Linked DNA regions of Homo sapiens: region 1 is linked to region 2. Evidence: promoter capture Hi-C in human tissues and cell types (Jung and others, 2019). All regions are on one chromosome and are shown on one strand. Each heading gives the region's core, a stretch centred on a gene start or on the middle of the fragment in contact. The rest is flanking DNA. Distances are from core to core; before and after follow the strand shown. Region 1 overlaps LINC01215 (long intergenic non-protein coding RNA 1215). Region 2 holds the start of HHLA2 (HHLA2 member of B7 family).

What was found. Contacts are between HindIII fragments. The study calls those that stand out against the background at their distance.
Region 1: a contact is called between a fragment that was not itself captured here and the fragment with the promoter of HHLA2 in region 2, in 1 of the 25 tissues and cell types used here (lymphoblastoid cells).

Annotation. Positions count from the first base shown.
Region 1 is chr3:108,133,906-108,136,605 of GRCh38, forward strand. It overlaps LINC01215 (long intergenic non-protein coding RNA 1215), which reads left to right. Exons shown (of 2, transcript NR_110030.1): 2 at 2,409-2,700. Among named protein-coding and RNA genes, the nearest start is that of LINC01215, 10 kb to the left of the region's middle. RefSeq lists a silencer at 18-177 and an enhancer at 2,668-2,700. The HindIII fragment of the contact is 7,983 bases long and covers 1-2,700 here.
Region 2 is chr3:108,295,060-108,297,909 of GRCh38, forward strand. HHLA2 (HHLA2 member of B7 family) reads left to right here and starts at 1,489. Exons shown (of 10, transcript NM_001282556.2): 1 at 1,489-1,540. The HindIII fragment of the contact is 3,171 bases long and covers 1-2,272 here.

The DNA of each region.
Region 1 (2,700 bases), core at 188-2,687, 160 kb before region 2:
TGAAGGCCAGATGGCTTTCACTGATGCTTCCTACTTGGTTATTTTATAACTGACAAACCTCTGAAAATGCCACTTAAAAGTAATAGTTTTCAGTATCACTTTAAGTGCTTTAGAATCACACTCAGCATTGGATGTAAATGGTTAAGGAGGGTAGCCTCGGTCTGCTACTGCCATAGATACCTTTAATATACAGAAATTACACAGAAAGTGTCATGGCATTCTTGTTTTACCCAGTGAGAAAATCCACTGTTCAAATCGAAACCAATATGGAAATTACTCCTTCCATCAAAAGGAGCAGAGGACGAAAACAAAAACAAAAACAAAAACAAAATCTCCTCAGCTCCACAGTGATGACATAGAAAGTTCAGATAAGAAAGAGAAAGAAGGCTTTGGGAAAACAAAAATAAGAAAGTATTTCAATGGCATTCCAAGTAAATAGTGGCTAGAGTTTTGGCTCAATGTACTAGCAACACAGTGATAAGGGCTCTTCTCAAAGTAAAGTGAACTTGGAGCAAGTGAATGAGGAAACACTGAAAACGGGTGGGCTGAGAAAAATGCACCCTCTCAGAGCATGCAGTGAAGGCTCAGCTGAATTAATACAAGGAAAGGAAATTTTACCCCAGACTATAGATCACTCGTTTAACCTTTCTCATGAGAGTCTTCTTCAGTTGTTAGTGAGGGGGAATTGTAGATTTATATTAGACCTGCATTGTAATATAACAGAGTTTAGCAATGCACTGTGGCTAAGACAGCTATATAACCAACTGGATGTAGTTCTTAGTGATACCACACTCAGTCATTTTCAGTTCTGCTTTCCTTTCGTTTTCCTTTTTTCCTTCTCATTTTCTCTCTTTCTATCATACATCAAGTTAAAGAATGTCTTTATATGCTGCCATAGACAAATATATATGAACCAGGTAGACCAAGAAACTAAGTAGTACACAAAGTGGCCAAACCCAGTAAAAGCCTATAACTTCTACACGTTTTACACATACACACACACACACCACACTCATTTAATTCCCTCAACACCTCTACTCTATAAAAATTTTATGCCTCCCCTTTTTTTGGTTTAGTAAACAAATTCAGGTAGGCTCAGTCATTTGACCAATGACAAACAACTAGAATATGGAGCATGAATTTGAAGCATCAGAGTCTGTACCCTTTTCTCTGAATATTTTGGGAGATAATTGGTACAAAGTAAATAAAAATCAATATTGTCATTATTGTCTACTTAGATAACAATGCAGTGTCTTCATTCATAATGGATTGCAGTTCCCCACTCAGGAAGAGGACATTTTTTTTAAAACTACATGATACAACTGAGAGCTTGGAAGCTATCCATGCATAAGTTTTAAAACCCAGCAGCTTCATGGTTTCCTCCTTCTGTTGGCCTGGCCAGTGGACACAGTGGTCACGTTCCTGGCATGGAGATGTCATTCATGGTAGGTGTTCTTGAATTGGAGCCTAAGGCTCCAGGACTTTTGTGGGTTCCTCCAGAATCCTACATCCTTATACACTCCCACGGGGTGCCTGCCCAGGTGAGTGGCATGCTTCATGGTATCCTTTCAGACTCTATCACTCCTACTTCTCCAACCCTGACTTACAATATGACCTGGGGAAGGATTAGAATGTTGGTATATTTTAATTTGCTCCTATGCCAAATCACAGTGCTTATATTTGCAACTCTGAGAATTGATGGGGACAATACATAGATTTAGAATTCACATGTGTGAGCACCATGAAGTACTTTGAACTTCACTAAATGGGGAAAATACAAGACACTACATTTAGAAATTGTTTAGGAGCAGCAAATGGAGAGAAGCAACATTTTTGCTTTAAAAAAAAACAACATCACAACCCCTTGATTATGTGCAGCACACAATTTAACAGGTGTGTGATTTATTCATTTATTCACAGACTCATGGACCAACCATTCCATCACAGCACTATTGTCTGTGAAGCAAAACACATTTACAGCAAACTGTATCAGCTCCTCAGAGAGACTGAATTAACCCATCTAAAAATCCTTTGCTTCCGATTGAAAAAGAGGGTTAATATCATCCAAATGATGAACATAAATAAACTTTACCTCAGTAAAGTTCTTTCCATCTTTGGATTTCTGGGTCATCTCTAACCAGTGCTTGATATGAAAGGGGGAAAAATAAAACTTGTGTATTATTTTTAGTGGATAAATGGAATATAATTGTTTCTCCATGTGTATCTAGAATTATGGCCTTCTTGGGGAAAGTACTACAGCCCCTCCCTTCCCTGCTCACTCATCTCTTTTCTTGGGAGAAAGATGGTTTTTCTGATTGGTGAGACTGGGGAAAACTTGATACCCACTCTGCCAGGTTTCTTTACCTGACAAAGTTAAGTGTTCATGAGTCATTTCTCTTTTTCTCTAGGTCTCTCAGACCCAAGTGTTACCAGTGAAGGGTGTCCAGGTTCTTGGCGCTTTGAACAAAGAATTGGACAAAACTCACAAACAAAGCAAGAAAAGAAAGAAGCAACAAAAGCAGAGATGTATTGAAAATGAAAACACACTCCACAGGGTGGGAGCAGGCCGAGCAAGCAGCTCAAGGGCCCAGTTACAGAACTTTCTGGGGTTTAAATACCCTTTAGAAGTTTCCATTGGTTACTTGGTGTACACCCTATGTATATGAAGTAGTGGCCTGTGATCAGTCTGATTGGTTGGAA
Region 2 (2,850 bases), core at 239-2,738:
CGCCTTTGGCACAGCACACAAATCCCCTGATCATATAATCATAGGGCCCTGTCTAGCTTTATAGCCTTTGGACATTACTGACCACATCAACTTTAACCTCCTGCCACACATGCACACTCAGGGGAGAGGGCAAGGTACATTTGGGGAACTCCCCCTCCTCTTCCCCATCTCTTCCTTGACTTCCTTCTTCTCTAGTCAGAGTCATCCATAGTGAGCCTTCTGCTGCCCACTGGAAACTGGGTTGAAAGTCCCAGCTACTCGGGAGGCTGAGGCAGGAGAATGGCGTGAACCTGGGAGACAGAGCTTGCAGTTAGCCGAGATCGTGCCACTGCACTCCAGCCTGGGCGACAGAAAGAGACTCTGTCTCAAAAAAAAAAAAAAAAAAAAAAACGAAAAACAAAAACAAACAAAAAAGAAAACGTTGGCGTGGGTGACTTTGGGGATTCTAGGAAGAGCCCTGGCGCTTTCAACCCAGTTTCCAGTGGGCAGCAGAAGGCTCACTATGGATGACTCTGACTAGAGAAGAAGGAAGTCAAGGAAGAGATGGGGAAGAGGAGGGGGAGTTCCCCAAATGTACTTTGCCCTCTCCCCTGAGTGTGCATGTGTGGCAGGAGGTTAACGTTGATGTGGTGAGTAATGCCGAAAGGCTATAAAGCTAGACAGGGCCCTATGATTATATGATCAGGGGATTTGTGTGCTGTGCCAAGGCTTGGATGGCATCCTTTGTTCCAGACAGAAGGGTCCTGTTTATTGTCCTCCTAAGGTAATTTTTGTTCACTTTGTAACTTTTGCTCCCATGCACTCAGCAAACAGATATTGACCAGCTACTATGTGCTAGTAAGTAAGTGGTAGTTGTTTGGGATACAATAGTGAGTAAAGCATGACTCTTAGCATCTGTTGTATGTGCATGCATGCCATGCATGTGACACTGAGGGAGAGAGAGATTAAATGATATGACAGCATAGAGGCTGGGCACTGCCCAACTTTCCATGTGGAATTCAGAGAGGTCTTTATTTCTCTGAAGTTGAGTTTAAGCTTGGGTGTTCTAGCGACCAGAACTGTAATGGGAATTGTAGGTGCAGATGAACTTTGTGTAGGGTTATGGTTCTTTCTCACAGAACTATTGGCACCCACTGCAACCAGCTACACAATTTTCTTTACAACTCTGCAGCAAGCTAGACAGGTCACAGGCAGTCCAACCTCAGGAGGTTGCCTGTATCATGTTGATGGTGAAGCTGACACCATAGCATGGAAACCAGAGTCCACTGCTCCCACAGCTCAATGCTTAGCTGTTTCAATATGTTGTCTGAAACTGCATCTTCTAATTCCTGGACTTTTCAGATCTGTACTGACTCAGATCTGGGTGGGGCTTAGTTTGAAGGAGGGAGTCCTTGGTGATGATGTGATTTCCTTGGTCTGTCATAGGTAGCAAATCAAACGTACCTTGGACTTTACTCTCTGAGAAACTCATAGCTGAATTCAATGTTTATTCTTATGGACTACTTAGCATTTGACTAGACGGTATGAATTTCTAAGTAAGGTAAGGATTTCTTTCTAAGTTGTTTATACCTAGAACTTAAAAGTGGGCATGAATAAATCAAATATGGGTGGTTTTTAGTTGACACTTTATTTTCCCGTTAGGAAAAAATTAGTGACTGATCTTTTAAATTGATTTAGTGCATATACTATGTATTGTGCATATGCACCAAACAAATACTTAGTAAAAGGTTGTCTTGAAGGAACATGCTGATATATTTCAAATAAAAGAACTTAGCAAAAATGAGGAAAATACCTAACATTCTGGTAAGACAGTGAAAGAGGGATGAGCAATGTTTGTTTTGAAAATTATCTGCGAACTTTAAAAAAATCTCTAAGAGTGTATTCTTACTTGTAATTGTTCATCTAGTTACACTACAGAGTTTTATTAGCTGCTCCAAGATGCACTGCGTTCCATTCTGTGGTGGAAACAAAAGGACCGTAGTAGTGGTTATCTAGCAGAAGAATCGTGATCTTTGAATTCTAATACAAGAAACTTAGAAGTCTCCTAGATATTTCCACTGTCTCAGGGAAGAATCATTAAGTTTATGTCATTTTTTAATAACTAAAACAAGATTCAAAAAGTTAAGATTCAATTCTCATTGGGTTTCTATTGTTTGGGACTTTGGATAATAGAAAAAAATATGAACAGGTAATTTAGGTTTTTTTGTGTTACTGGTACCTGACAAAACAAACTTGAGCTTCCCATTTCCTAGAAACTTGGAGGAAATAATTTCTGTCCAGAATGGCAAATTGGTGTCATATCCCATTATAAGCATATTTTAATCAAAAGATGCAATAAAGTGTAGTGGTCAAGATCATAGTCTCTAGAGTCAAGTAATCCTTGGTGCATTTACCTGCTTCATCATTAACCAGTTGTATATTTTTCTCAGAGCCAGTTTCCTAATCTGTAAAATGGGGGTAGACTAGTATTGCTGTGAAGATTAAATGAAATTTATTAAAGTGCTTAGCAAAGTGCCTGGTATGTAGAAAGTGTTTAATAAATATTATTATTTCAGAATATAGATGTAAAAGACAAATGATTTCCTATATAATCATATTGAGTAGCCTGAAAGTTTGGTGGCTCTTAAATAAATCCATGAATGAAGGCTCTGCCTACTTTTGGCGTGTGGCCCACCAGCATGTTCTATCAGTTGGCCTGAGCTGGGAAAGAAACCAATTCCTGTGTTGAGTTTTCCTCCAGGTGCTTAAAATAGACCATAGCTTAATATTTTGATCATTAACCAGTGATTCTGGGTGGCTTCTCCTTGCTCTGGTCAGTGACCGGTGTAGGTCACGTAGTACAGCATTAAA